5 separate regions of the Homo sapiens genome follow, and all the other regions are linked to region 4. The links are contacts of gene promoters, found by promoter capture Hi-C in blood cells and fetal thymus (Javierre and others, 2016). All regions are on one chromosome and are shown on one strand. Each heading gives the region's core, a stretch centred on a gene start or on the middle of the fragment in contact. The rest is flanking DNA. Distances are from core to core; before and after follow the strand shown.

Evidence for each region. Contacts are between HindIII fragments. The CHiCAGO score rates a contact against its expected background, and 5 or more counts as called.
Region 1: the fragment with the promoter of SEPTIN4-AS1 here is called in contact with the fragment with the promoter of C17orf67 in region 4 in 4 of 17 cell types (non-activated CD4 T cells, activated CD4 T cells, total CD4 T cells and 1 more); the score reaches 7.4 in non-activated CD4 T cells.
Region 2: the fragment with the promoter of PCTP here is called in contact with the fragment with the promoter of C17orf67 in region 4 in 1 of 17 cell types (naive CD4 T cells); the score reaches 5.5 in naive CD4 T cells.
Region 3: a contact is called between the fragment with the promoter of VEZF1 here and the fragment with the promoter of C17orf67 in region 4, in 7 of 17 cell types (neutrophils, naive CD8 T cells, fetal thymus and 4 more). The highest score is 11.8, in neutrophils.
Region 5: the fragment with the promoter of MMD here is called in contact with the fragment with the promoter of C17orf67 in region 4 in 1 of 17 cell types (non-activated CD4 T cells); the score reaches 8.6 in non-activated CD4 T cells.

Annotation. Positions count from the first base shown.
Region 1 is chr17:58,518,401-58,521,100 of GRCh38, reverse strand. It overlaps SEPTIN4-AS1 (SEPTIN4 antisense RNA 1), which reads right to left and starts at 1,264. Exons shown (of 5, transcript NR_110810.1): 1 at 1,124-1,264. SEPTIN4 (septin 4) reads left to right here. Exons shown (of 14, transcript NM_001368771.2): 12 at 1-103; 13 at 259-358; 14 at 616-845. The coding sequence ends at 675. It also overlaps a transcript of MTMR4 not described here. RefSeq lists enhancers at 2,513-2,612, 1,960-2,700. The HindIII fragment of the contact is 4,387 bases long and covers 337-2,700 here.
Region 2 is chr17:55,749,798-55,752,497 of GRCh38, reverse strand. It overlaps PCTP (phosphatidylcholine transfer protein), which reads right to left and starts at 1,447. Exons shown (of 6, transcript NM_021213.4): 1 at 1,254-1,447. The coding sequence starts at 1,394. RefSeq lists a silencer at 1,310-1,649. The HindIII fragment of the contact is 1,470 bases long and covers 1,377-2,700 here.
Region 3 is chr17:57,986,879-57,989,578 of GRCh38, reverse strand. It overlaps VEZF1 (vascular endothelial zinc finger 1), which reads left to right and starts at 1,325. Exons shown (of 6, transcript NM_007146.3): 1 at 1,325-1,500. The coding sequence starts at 1,468. It overlaps LOC101929185 (a long non-coding RNA gene), which reads right to left and starts at 1,469. Exons shown (of 1, transcript XR_001752716.3): 1 at 1-1,469. It also overlaps a transcript of SRSF1 not described here. RefSeq lists enhancers at 723-862, 883-932 and silencers at 1,083-1,362, 1,433-1,912, 1,993-2,062. The HindIII fragment of the contact is 4,468 bases long and covers 1-2,700 here.
Region 4 is chr17:56,832,646-56,835,345 of GRCh38, reverse strand. C17orf67 (chromosome 17 open reading frame 67) reads left to right here and starts at 1,426. Exons shown (of 8, transcript NM_001085430.4): 1 at 1,426-1,728; 2 at 2,004-2,448. It overlaps DGKE (diacylglycerol kinase epsilon), which reads right to left and starts at 1,195. Exons shown (of 12, transcript NM_003647.3): 1 at 1,086-1,195; 2 at 87-568. The coding sequence starts at 550. RefSeq lists enhancers at 1-339, 71-470, 939-1,536 and silencers at 861-1,930, 1,904-2,198. The HindIII fragment of the contact is 8,035 bases long and covers 103-2,700 here.
Region 5 is chr17:55,420,568-55,423,267 of GRCh38, reverse strand. MMD (monocyte to macrophage differentiation associated) reads left to right here and starts at 1,433. Exons shown (of 7, transcript NM_012329.3): 1 at 1,433-1,598. The coding sequence starts at 1,573. RefSeq lists a silencer at 1,033-1,492. The HindIII fragment of the contact is 12,161 bases long and covers 1-2,700 here.

The sequences.
Region 1 (2,700 bases), core at 15-2,514, 1.7 Mb before region 4:
TGCAGGACCTGAAGGATGTGACACGGGAGACACATTATGAGAACTACCGGGCACAGTGCATCCAGAGCATGACCCGCCTGGTGGTGAAGGAACGGAATCGCAAGTATGACCAGAAGCCAGGACAAAGCTGGCAGGGGGAGATCCCAAGCCTAGCCTTGGGTGAGACCAAGCCCTACTTTTGTTCTTCTATAGGCCCTGGGCTCAATCTAAGCGGGTGCTGGGGTCCTCCTCGCCTTATCAACCCTTTTCTCCCTTTAGCAAACTGACTCGGGAAAGTGGTACCGACTTCCCCATCCCTGCTGTCCCACCAGGGACAGATCCAGAAACTGAGAAGCTTATCCGAGAGAAAGATGAGGAGGTGAGAGCAGTATGGGGTATAGGGGAGGTCTCCTGTTTGATCACCAACGTTGGTATCTCTTTGTTTGGTAATAGAAAGATCCCTGGCTCTGGTGCATATTTGGGTCCTGGATAGGTCAATAGGTGGTTCTGTCCAGAGTCTCCATCACACCTCACGGCTACCAAGGTTCTGGCTTAAGGGATTAGAAATTTGGGGCACTTTCCCAATACTAAAGGACTCTCCAAAAGTCCCCATTTTGATGCCTGTGCCTATTCCAGCTGCGGCGGATGCAGGAGATGCTACACAAAATACAAAAACAGATGAAGGAGAACTATTAACTGGCTTTCAGCCCTGGATATTTAAATCTCCTCCTCTTCTTCCTGTCCATGCCGGCCCCTCCCAGCACCAGCTCTGCTCAGGCCCCTTCAGCTACTGCCACTTCGCCTTACATCCCTGCTGACTGCCCAGAGACTCAGAGGAAATAAAGTTTAATAAATCTGTAGGTGGCTTCTGGTGTCCCTGTGTGTATTTTTATGACCTGGAGATCAAGATCCTGGGACCCAGTTTTGAAAGGCTAATGGTAGAAGATGTTGGTTTCTGGCTTTTAGTAGGGAAGGGAGAGTGGGGAAAACTTTCCACTTCCTTTCCCCTTCTAAGTCCCTGCTTAGAATCCAGCCTGGCTTCTCCATCTTGACGATCATATCTATCATGCCTCTGTTATCTGGGGTCTGGGTCTCTCTCCATCTTTCACACATACAGTACCTTTGGTAATAAAAAGATTCCTACCTGTGGTGCATATTTGGGTCCTGGATAGGTCAACAGGTGGTTCTGTCCAGAGTCTCCCATCACACCTCAGGGCTACCAAGGTCCTGGCTTAAGGGATTAGAAATTTGGGGCACTTCTCCTGGCTAAGGAGAAAGTGAAACCCTGTCTCTACTAAAAATACAAAATAGCCGGGCGTGGTGGCGGGCGCCTGTAGTCCCAGCTACTCGGGAGGCTGAGGCAGGAGAATGGCTGAACCCGGGAGGCGGAGCTTGAAGTGAGCTGAGATGGCGCCACTGCACTCCAGCCTGGGTGACAGGGCGAGACTCCGTCTCAAAAAAAAAAAAGAAAAATAAAAAGAAAAAGAAATTTGGGGCACTTCCCCAATATTAAAGGACTGTCCAAAAGTCCCCCCTGCCCTTTTTTTTTTTGAGGCGGAGTCTCGCTCTGTCGCCCAGGCTGGAGTGCAACGGCGCTATCTCGGCTCACTGCAAGCTCCGTAGCTGGGACTACAAGACTCCGTAGCTGGGACTACAGGCGCCCGCCACCACGCCCGACTAATTTTTTGTATTTTTAGTAGAGACGGGGTTTCACCGTGTTAGCCAGGATGACCTCGATCTCCTGACCTTGAGATCCGCCCGCCTCGGCCCCCCAAGGTGCTGGGATTACAGGCATGAGCCACCGCGCCCGGCCCAAAAGGCCCCATTTTGATGCCTGTGCGTATTCCAGCTGCGGCGGACGCAGTTTTGTATTTGATACCTGCCCTTGGGAAAACACAAGGTATTAACTGCGTGCAACCTCCTGACTTTCTGTTTCCCCTGATCTGGGAAAAGGGATAGGCAGGTTAAGCTCTACACTGTAGAAAGCCTGTGATAGAGCTTTGAACAAATGCTGCAGCCATTGTAATCACCAAACACTATAGTAAGTGCTGGGAATGAATAAAAACACAATCACCGTCCTACAGGAGTTCAGTATTTAATTAAAAAATTTACAGCATCTGCTAGATTGCAGGCTGTTCTAGACCCTGGAGTTCAAGTAGTGCAAAGTTCCTGTCTTCCTGGAACTTACCAACAGTACTGGAGTTTCAACGTTCTATAAACAAAGATGGGTGAGGACATTAGCCCCGGGCTAATTAAAGCGCTCAGGCCCGCTCCAGACCTGAGAATATCAGCTGAATCTGAATCAACTGTTCTCCATTTCTGTCGGTTGGTGGTATCGCGGGGCCACGGCGACCTCCAGCGGCCACCCTCCGTCTTGTGGTCTGTTCTGGGTCCCCGGGAAGGAAAGGGAGGGGCGATAAGCCGGGTCCTTGGGAGCGTCCTGGTCTCCCTTCGCTTTACAGACTAGGAGGCCGCAGCTAGCTGGCAGTCTCAGATCCAGGTTTCCCATCTCTGGGATGAGAGGAGAGTTCTTCACTCAGGACTGCCAGCGCAATGCAGGTCGTGAAGAACTGCAGGGTCGTTTATCGATACAAAGTGAGTGTTGGAGGAACCCATCAAGACACAGGAAGGGGGAAATCCTAGCGCCGCCAGTCGGAGATGACCAAGACTGAACCTCAGGCCCAGCCCTCCCTTCTCTCTTAGCCTGCAGGTTTTTCTCCT
Region 2 (2,700 bases), core at 198-2,697, 1.1 Mb after region 4:
TTGACCTTGGCAATATTACAATTTGGGACTGGATAATTCTTCCCCGGGAGAGGTATGGGGTCACTGTCCTGTGCATTGTAGAGTTATTTACAGCTATCAAATTTTCACACATATCTGACAGATTGGATTTGAACCCCCTAACAACCCTGCAATGAGACAGGCAGAGTTTTCATTCCTGCAATGAGACAGGCAGAGTTTTCATTCCTGTTTAACAGGTGAGCAACTTCTAAATATTGCAAACGTTTGTTTTCTGTTTTAAAATATAAAAACACTATATTTGATGTAAACAAAAATGCAAGTGCCTAAAAAGGCAACCACATGTTTGACATTCACAAGATCATGAACCCTCCAATCCCACCTCTGCTATTCACTTATCTGGGCCATTTCAGGAGTGACTTCACCCTTGAGGCCTGTTGCTTTCACCTATGAAACCTGGGGTTTAACCAGGTGAGCATGAGGTATCCTCCTAACTCTAACACTATAATATCCTGGTCCTGTATTAGGAAACTTCAGTTTCACCCACATTACCTGCAGGCGACTTTTAACCTACTTGCCATGCTGCGACTATTACACAAAGCAACTGATGACAAGCCTTGGATGACAGGCCTCAGGGGCAATGCCTTCCACCTGGATGGCTACCTGATTCCAAAGACTTCAACAACCAATCCCATTCCTCCTACATCTTTACTCCTGCCTGAAGATTCGGACTCAACTTATTAAGAGCAACTTGGAAGGAAGGGGCAACAACCAAAAGAAACGAGTCACTAAAACAGTAGGGCCCTTCTCGGCAACCCCTGACACCACCCTGCACATCCAGTCCTTGAAAAGTTCTGTTTCTTTTCCTCCTATATCCAAGCCCTAAGATACCGCCCCTCCCCCACCCCAGCCCCCATATGCCACTGACACGCATTGGAGAGTGAGGATCAACGTCCCTTGCAGACGTGTGCACGGGCCTAGGAACCAGCTGACCCACGTTTCAACTGTCATTAACTTCTAACTACATGCCCCGTCGGGCCTGACCTGAGGCTGAACTCCTGTGACCTTCCAACTCCCCTGGATCTGCACGGCAGTCACTTGGAGGCACCGCCCCTGCGCTAGCTCCAGAGCTTGAGACAGGGTCCGGGCGGAGCTCCTTCCTGAGCCGGAGAAGACGCGCCCCTGTCCCTTCCGCGACTGCCGCCCCGCACTCCCTGCGGGGAGGTCGACCCCGGCGCATTCTAGGCCCCGCGGTCCTCCAGCGGGTTGGCCGCTACCTTGTCCAGCAGCCGGTAGATGCTGATGCCCGAGGTCTCCACTAGGAGCTGCCAGTCGGCCCCGGCCAGAGCGGGCTGCTGGAGCTCGGCGCAGGCCTCCCAGAACTGCTCCTCCGAGAAGCTTCCGGCGGCCAGCTCCATCCTTCCGCAGTCCGGGCTCCTCCGCCTGGAGGGCAGGCCGCGGACACCCTTAGTGTGGGCCTGGGGGCGGGGTGACCGGGCTGCCCCGGCTGCCCCGGCTGCCCCAGCGTCATTGGCAGGAAACTGAGGAGAAGGCGGGGCCTAGACTGGAGGAGCGGCCTGAGGGTGGGGCCCTGGAGGGGCGGGCCTAGAAAAGCGGGCGGGGCTGAGCAAGGAGTGAGGAGGATAGACAAGAAGTAAAAGGAGAAAAATTGGACTTGATGTGGGGAAGGAAGGAAGAGCTGGAGAAGTAAGGAGGCTTCCAGAGGGAAGGGAAAAAGGAAGGGAGACAGTGATGTCACCTCAAAAACAGCTCCTCAGTAGCCTATCCCATACTCCCTGCTACTCCCATAACCTACAGACCTGTTTGAGTGTCTCTCATTTACCTTTCTGAATAAAGTAGAGAAAGTCTCTTTGGTAGACATGAGAGGAGAGGTGGGCAGAGTAGAAATGCTGGAAAAATCCTAAGGGGTCAAATGCCAGAAGTGTATTTCAATATAATTTCTCTTCTTTCTGCTATACATTGTAAAACATTATTCTGAGACGAGGTCCATTGGATTCCCCAGAAGACTCTAGGGGTTCATAACACCAAAACAGTTTAGAAACCTAATCCATAATGGATCTACAAGGTTGTTGCCACCCTTGAGGGTAGAAACTGATCTGAAAGGTGTCGTACTATCCACCTAGGATTTCTGCAACTTGCATAATTTAGCTCACTGTGCAACTCAAACATCTTCTTGTTCCTTTGAAGTCCCTTGAGTAATACTGTATTTCCCACCAGCAGACTGTACTACCTGACTTTGAATAAAGTAGGTCGTTTGAACATCAAAACGATGTAACAGCCACGTGAGTGCCAATAAACTCTGGAAACTCATGTTTCCTAATCTGTAAAATGGGTCAAGAATTGTGCTACCAGTTACAGCTGAGGAGGTGGTTGGACAAGGAATAATTTTCCACAGTGCCCGTCCAAGTAAATGTTCAATAACAATTTCCACTTGTTTTGCATTACTATATTGAAATGCTTTTCTTTCCTTACTTGAAAGAAAGTTGATGGCAAAGTCTTAATTTATGTGATTTTCCAATCAGGCAAATGATCACATTTGGCAGCTTGCTTAGTTAGACACAGCAGAGATAAATAATTGCTTTCCTCAAGTCAGTCCTGGTTCTGTTTGGCTTTATAGGTGTGGAAAGAGGGATGTGAAATTTTCCTAGACTAAATGCACAAAAGTTTAGGCTAGACATACTTTCCCACTGTTTTATAACTCCT
Region 3 (2,700 bases), core at 76-2,575, 1.2 Mb before region 4:
ATTACTATATCTCCTTGGTTTTCTATTACAGTAGAATTCTCCAGCCATATTTTTATTGTCTATGGGGGAAGTTGGAGATGGTGACCTTGATTAGAAGTGTCTGGAGGGGGATAAATGGAGGGGATAAGATTCAGTTGGTTTTGGAAAATGTTAAAGTCTTAAAATAATGCGTCCATCTGAAGAATTTTTTCTAAAACCAGAGTTTATAAAAATATCACTGATACAGCCTGCCCCCTCATTTCCCTGCCACAGGAGATGTCTTGGACTAGAGACACTTGTTTAATAATAGCTTGTCTCTGATATTCCCAGTAGCTTCCCTCTGTGTGAGGAAAGGATAGAAATGTTCAGGACATCATCATACAGGCTCCTCATCTACAAAGTTCCAGTAGCAGTGACGCCTACACGGAAGACTTGGAACTGCAAACAGGCTGGGGTCACCTCAGTGACATCTGACGCTGTCCAACCAGAAGTTCGATTTTTGTTCTGGGGGTGAAGGAGGAAACAGACTGTACTAAAGGACTAAAATAATTTGTCTATACTATCTCACTTGTTTTTATTTTTGGCGGGAGAGGAGGGGTGTTGGGATAGAATTTCACATCCTATCTTGGAGTGAAGGGGAGGATGGGGAGGCTCAGCCCTTCACCCAAGAATAACCCAGTAATGACATCTCTACGCGTGGGAAGTGTTTCCCTCCACACTGAGAGGATCTGAGGCTGCACCCCAGTGGGATTCCCTGCTTGAGTTGGAAGGCCATCTCGCCATGAGATGCATATCATAGCGAGAGCGCAGAGGGCTTAGCCGGCCGGGGAGGAAATGCCAAAAGGAAGAGAGGCTCGAAGTCGAAAGGGCTTCCCCCAGTTTGGAGGTGGGGACCATGCTGTGCATGAGCGACTGAAGAGCCGAGTGTCCGCCGTGGCCTGTGCCCTCCGCTGAGGGTCTAACAGGGACGCGACGGTGCTGGACACCGTGTCTGAGTCACGGGAGACGGCCCAGCTGTGCCCAGCGGGCCAGCGCCAGACCCTGGCGTCCTCCATCTTCTCTCCTGAGCTCCCCCTGCTCCAGCTGCCTGAGCCACGGACCGCAGCACCACACACCCCCGCGGGGGGGGACGCCGCGCCCCATCCCCGCCCCGGGCCCCACCCCAGCCCCCCCGCGGGGGCCCTGACCCCACCGCCAGCGGGCACTGGCTGAGCTCCGAGGCGGCGAGCCGGCAGCGGGGACGCCCAGAGGGGGTCCGGGCGACTGGGGGCGGCGGCGGCCGGGCCGGGGCTCCCCCCCCGCCCGCGCTCGCCGCCGCGGTGGTGCGTCCCGGAGGTTACCGGAAGTGGCCGCGCTCGGCGCTGCCATGTTGAGGAGCCGCCGCTGCCGTTGCCGCCGCCGCCGCCGCCGCTTTGTTGTCGCCTCCTCCGGCTGAGGAGGCTCCCCGAGCGGGGGGAGTGGGGAGGAGGGGGGTCGGCCGCCGCAGCCATGGAGGCCAACTGGACCGCGTTCCTGTTCCAGGTACTGGGGGCCCCCCCGGGGGGGCACGGGGGGGACAGGGGGGCCGGGCCCCGGGCTGGCGGGCGGGCGGGCGCTCCTCCTCCCCTCCCTCCCGGCTCCGCTCTCCGGCCCGGCCTTAATCCCCCTTTGTTTTTCCGCCCGCCCGCCCCGGCGAAGCGGGGCTGCTGAGGTGAAAGGAGGCGGCCTCACGGGGTGCGGGGGAGATAGCAGGCCGCGGGGTGAACCCGGGGGCCCCCCAGCACACACACGCACACACACACACTCACACACACCCTTCCCTCTCGCTCTGAAGGGGAAGGGAGGAGGCCGGTCGCTGTCACCACCCCGCGGCCCAGAGAAAGGAGGGCGCCGGGCCGCTGGATAGCGCGGGCTGCTGGGCCATTGCGTGCCGGCCCGGTCCCCCACGGTGGGGTGAGGAGGTCCCCAGGTCCTGCCCTGAGTCTCCTCCCCGCCACTTCATCCATCTTTCGCTTGTTCTCTTTTCACCTTCCTCGTCTTTTTGTGTGTGTGCGTGCGTGTGTTGACTTTCTGACCCCCTCCCGTGTCCCCGCGAATAGCGGGTATCCCCAGGTTCCCCGCCACTCCCCCTCACCGCCACCACCCCTCTCGTGTTTACCCAGTTGGGGGGGCGGATGTTGTGAGTGTGTATCCCCTCCCCAAACTTTTTCACTGGATTTACATTTTTTTTTCCCAAGTCTCAGCCGAGCCTTGGCAGCTGACACCTTCTCCCTCTGTCCAGCTCTCCCGCCGTCCCATTCAGCCTGGGGAATCCCCCAGCCGGGCCGGCCCGGGGCAGGCGGGGAGCGGTGGGGGCCGGGACTCCTGGAGGCCCGACCTTCTCCCGAAGCGCTTTTCTTTCTCGCCCACCTCGAACGTTTCCTCCAACCAAGTGGAGAGAGCAAACAAAGTCCGCTTACAAAGCCCCCAGATGAGTCACTCTCTGGGATGTTGGTCTTCGCTTTTTTGCAAGAAACTTGAAAGTGACTGTAGCCGATGTGTTTTGGCAATTCTCTTGCCCGCCCACTTTAGATGGGGGACCCCTGTTTGGCAGATCTAGGCTGGAACTTATTTTTTTCCTACTTCGTTTCTGTTTGCAAAACGAAGCATTCAGTGGGCAGTAGCGATGAGCTCACGGGGAAACTTCGGAACTGGAGGAGGTTAGGAAGCTCGTCACTTTTAAGTGCGTTCTTCCCGCCTCTC
Region 4 (2,700 bases), core at 177-2,676:
AGATTAAAGCAGGCCTCTACACCACTCTATGAAATCCTGATTCCCACGGCGCATTCTGGGACAGTGAGTGTCCACGAAGACCATACCTGTAATCGCAAAGCTTGGGTTGACAGCCACACTGCTGCTTGCAAACCATACAGTAACTGCACAGGGGCACGTTGCCCCGGATCCAGTGGTGGGGCATGGCGTCCAGGACCTTGGTGTCATTCTTGAGCATAATCTCCTTGCACTGGAAGCGCTTGTCGGCCTTCCTGAGGCAGCCCTCGTCCACGCGGAGCCCGCAGCAGTCGCAGAAGGCGCCCTGCAGAATGTGCTGCGCGCACACGCAGCAGTAGGTGGGCTGGCTGAACAGGTCCGTGTCGCGCCACCCGTGCTTGCTCTTGCGGAAGATGTCCCTGCGGTGCAGCTGCCGGCGCGACCGCTGGAGGCTACACCAGAAGGTGATGAACACCGGCAGCAGGACCGAGCACAGCGTCCACAAGATCAGGTGCCCGTCCGCAAACAGGCCCTCGGAGGGCGAGCCCGGCGCCGGCCGCCTCTCCGCTTCCATCTTCTCCAAGGACGATACCTAACCAGAAAAGAAACAGGCGGTGCACCCCGAGCTCGCCATCCCTTCCCCGCCCCCTTCCTGCCTTTCCGGGGCCAAACCGGGCGCCCTCAGTGAAGGTGGCTCCGCTCTCCCGAGGGCGGGACTGCGCCTCGTCCCCCCGTCTCCCGGGACCTGCCGCGCCGAGAAGGCGACGTCCAGCCATCACGCTCCAATCCCCACTCCCCAACCCGCCCCACCTCGGGAGCGCGTCCAGGAGCCCAAGGCGGCTGCTGCTGCCGCCGCCGCCTCACCTTGCCGCCGGTCTGACCCACGGAAGGGCGCAACATACAGGGGCAAGCTGCCCTCCACCGAAAGGCCGGGCGTTCAGGCCAGGCAACGCCGGTCGGCGCCCGTAACCGTCGGCCCAGGCCTCGCACTCCCCTCCGGGGCGCCGTCTCCTCCCGGGCCCCACCCGCTCCCACGCGCGGCCCGGCGACCCTAGCCCCTCTCGGGAGGCCTCCGGAGACCTGCGCCGCGCCGGTCCTCGAAGCCCTACCTCGCGCGGGTGGAGGCGCGGCTCCGGGCCAGCAGGCCTTGGCCGCCTCGCGCAGGAGGAGAACGACGCTGGGCCGCCAGCAGGGATGAAGCCGGGCGGGGGAAACGCTTAAGGCTCCAGCCGCACGCACGCCGATCCGGCGCGCGGGGCCGCGAGCTGGAGGCGGGGCCTGTGGCGGCGAGCCCCGTGGCTGGGCGGAGCCAGGGCTGACGGGCGGGGCGGAGGTGTGAGGTGGGAGGGGAGACGGACCGGCCTGAGGGGGCGGGGCCGTGGAGGAGGCTGGAGACGGATGGAAGAGGCAGGGCACTGCGGCTGGGGGCGGGGCCTAGGGGAAGGGGGCGGAGTAACAGTGGGGCGTTTGAGAGGATGGAGGGTTGAATGCCAAAACTTCGTAATCGTAGAAAATTCTGGAAAGCCGCCGGCGGGGCAAGGCCACGAGGATCCTCCTCGCAGCACCGCGCCGCGCGGGGCCCAGGGGCCGCGCTCACGCCCGCCGCTCGGCGCAGACACGAGTGCCCCCGACTTGAGCCGAACCTCTAGCCGATGCCGGCGCCGCCGCCGCCGGGGATGCGTAAGCCGACTGGGAAGCGAGGGGGGGAGGCGGCCTGCGCGGCACCGCCCGACCTGGCCGCGGCGGGCTGAGGTAGGTGTGGCGGCCGCAGTAACGCAAACCTGAGGGCTCCTCCGCTGCGGAGCGGCGGGCGGGCGCGGAGGCCGAGGGCGAGCGGGGCAGCCGCCCGCTCGTCGCCGCTGACCCCGAGCCCGGCCGCGGTTTCCGCCCCCTGCCGTGGCGGGCGGGCCTCCCCTGCGCTACCCCCTCGCCCGCGCCCGCCAGCGCCCGAGGCCGGGGAGAAAGGGGAGCAGCGGGAGCCGGGGACTACCGGAGATGGGAGCACGCCTCCTGCTGCTGTCGTCCAGCCCCAGGTTCCGGAGGAATGCTCGCTCCCCGCTGGAGTCCTACCAGCCCAACACGGACCTGAGCCGCGACCACGCGGGCTGCAGCCTGCAGCACATCAGCTACCCGGAGAACGCGGACGCGGAAGCACCGCTGCTCAGCACCCCCGAAGAAACACGGAATCCAGAGAGGCACAGGCACCGCCCCGGCGCGCACAGCTGCACTCAGCGGCTTCCTTCCTACTACATACATACATAGGAGTGGGAGCCGAGGACCACTTGTTGCTTGCGGACTTCCTCTAGCATAAAAGATGGAAAGAAAACACACACCGAAGCAAGGGACCAAAGGAACAGAAAAGAAACGCAGAGATCATAGGAAAACTGCAAAGAAATACTTGATAATATCTTCCAAACGATTAGAGAAGACATAACATTCATTAAGAATACACATATAGATGTATATATACGTGTATGTGTGTATGTATATATTATTATGTGTGCATATATATGCATGTGTATGTGCGTATATTTGTATTAACTGTAGAAGATAAAGCTAGACACTAGTAAAAGTGGTAAAGCAGATTTTAATAATATACTATTGTAATAGGGAAGAAGGTACCTCGTGAACGGAACTGAACTTTGTGCAGAAGTGACTAGGTGTTTAAGAGGGAGGAGGAGGGAATGTGAAGGGGATGAGCAGGAACTCAGTAGTCAGGAAAGT
Region 5 (2,700 bases), core at 184-2,683, 1.4 Mb after region 4:
TGGAGGAGCTCTTGGGAAGATTGAAGCATGGAAAGCACCTCTCTGGAAGGTTCAAGGAAAGGGAACTAGAATTATGGGTGACAGAATTCCCTGGCTTTCCAATGCTTTACTGTAGGTCGAATGAGCACTCCTAGCAGGCTGGCCTCATGCCACTTCAGAGTCTCTAGCCTGCAGGCTGGGGGCTGGGTATGGACACGATACCTGGAAGGGAACACATATAACTTCCATCAGTGATCCTGGAAAGGCTCGACAAATCACCCATTCATTCATTCTGTGTGTATGTGTGTGTGTGTGAGAGAGAGAGAGAGAGACAGAGTCTCACTCTGTCACCCAGGCTGGAATGCAGTGGTGCAATCTCGGCTCACTGCAACCTCTATCTCCCAAGTTCAAGTGATTCTCCCATCTCAGCCCCCCGAGTAGCTGGGATTACAGGAGCCCGCCACCACTCCCGGCTAATTTTTGTATTTTTAGTAGAGACAAGGTTTCACCAAGTTGGCCAGGCTGGTCTCGAACTCCTGACCTCAGGTGATCCGCCCACCTTGGCTTCCCAAAGTGCTGGGATTACAGGCATGAACCACAGCACCTGGCCCATTCATTCATTTTTATTTGAACTTCTCTTCCAGGAAGCCCTCTGAGTTTAGGTTTAGCGACAGGACCCTGATTCAAGTCAACTCGTTTATTTGAAAGCTGCCTGGATAAAAATAAAATAAAATAAAAAATAAACTGGAGGATAACATAAAAGGATCCTTGCAGAGGATTCCTCCTTTTGTGGATCTCACTGAATCTCAGAGTTAGAAGACGCTCAGAGATCTCAACTCCCTCAAGGGTCAGACAAGGACAGGTTTTTCATTCTGCCCTGGATCCTCTCACAATAGCCTCGCGGGAGCTGGCCCTCAAAATGATGAAGGAATAAATGAAAGGAGGGATGGAGAAATTAATGATGAAGAAAAAATGAATGAGGTAGGGCTGCTTGTTTGCTGCTATTTTCTTCACAATGCTTTTAAGATTTCCTGGTCCATCTCCTCCTTCACCACTTCTCTCCCTCCCTCGATCTCTTCTCCAACTTGTCTCTTACAGAAGGGCGCCGCGTTCCCGCGCTCCTCCCCTTCCCCTCGCCCCGCCCCTCCCCAGCGAGGCCCCGCCTCGCTGCCCGAGCCCGGCGGGAATGAATGGCAGCGTAGCCGCCGCGCCGCTCGGGGTGCCGATTGGCTGACCGGCGCGCTGACGCGCCGGCGACCGCGGGTGCACGCAGGCGAACAGAGCCGGCGGGGGCGGAGCCGGGCTCCGGGGCGGGGCGCAGGAGCCCCGGGGCGGAGGAGCCGGGGAGGCGGGAGGCGGGAGGCGGGAGGTGTTGGGGCCGTTGAAGCGGCCTCCCTCCCGCCCCCAGCCGCCCGGTCTGGCCCCAGCCCTGTCCCGACCCCCGGCCTGGCCCACTCCGACCCTACCCGGCCGAAGGGTTCCGCTGGACACGCAGGCGGCCTCCGGAGCAGCCCAAGCCCATGAGGGCCGCGCGCCCGGCCGCCGGTGCTGACGAGACGGAGCTCCTGGCCCCCGAGGAGGAGCAGAGGATCAATGCGGTTCAAGAATCGATTCCAGCGGTGAGAGGGATGGCGTCCCGGTCCCGCTGCCCGTGTCAGAAGCGGGTTCCCAAATCCCGCCGTTAAGCGCACGGCTCCCGGCTCCTCACCTGGATTCATCCTGGGTGGATCCCGCACCTTGGCCAGGGATCAGTTCCCTGGGGATTCCCCACCCTGCTGTCCCTGGGCGATCCCCTTCCTCCAAGGATGGGAGCTCCTGCCTCACCCGGGTCTCCCCTCGCGATCTGCGGACCTCAGATGGATTCCCGGCCCCGGGACTCCAAGCCTGTCCTCCTTCCCGGGGATCCCTTTGCTCCTGGGGCTCACCCTCCCGACCCCCATACAGGCTGGGCTCTGGCTCTCTCTGGGAACCCGAACCCCAGCCCCGGGCACCGCCCCCGAGTCCTCCGACCTGGCTTTGGCCTCCATCCCTTTACCTCCAGGGTGGGGGTCTCCCGGGGCGCGCGGAACGGGGTGGCGCCCTGCGGAGAGATTTGTCGTAAAGCGGGGTGCTAGGCATTTTGGGTGCTTTGTGAACGGCCCTAGCAACAGGGAAACTGAGGCACGCTCCGCCAGCTTAGCCCTGCCTGGCCGTGTAGGGGCCTTGCTGGTTCTCCAGCTGAACGTCCCAGGGCGGTGCTATTTTTGGGCTCTGCGAAGGGGCATGTTAGCTTTCGGGTGGCGAGACCTGCTGTGGAGGCGCCGGTGTTAGGAAACGAGGAGGAGGAACCGTGGAGGCGCCACCGGAAGGCTGGCCGACTGCTCATTCACTGTAGAGCTGGTGGAAATGCCGGGCTGGGGGGCGCCGTGGCCTTACTCCCCTCTGGGGCTCCACCGTCTAACAATGGATGGAGGTTAGCCCATGACTCTGAGAGGAACTCCGGGCTTTTCTTTTCTGTTTAAGTGGGTGAAAGTTCACCTCTCCAGGGCATATGGTAACTGCATCCCTTTGTGTGAATTCCCGGACCTTCACCACCAGCATGTTTGCTGGGGGTGCAGTGACAGGGGAAATTTTAAGAAATGCATGAAATCTTCCAAGAAGGTTGTTGAGTTTTTAGACACTACCTTTTATTTCAGAATTTTAAAGTACACATTTTTTTTTTCTTTCCAATCTCCATGCCCT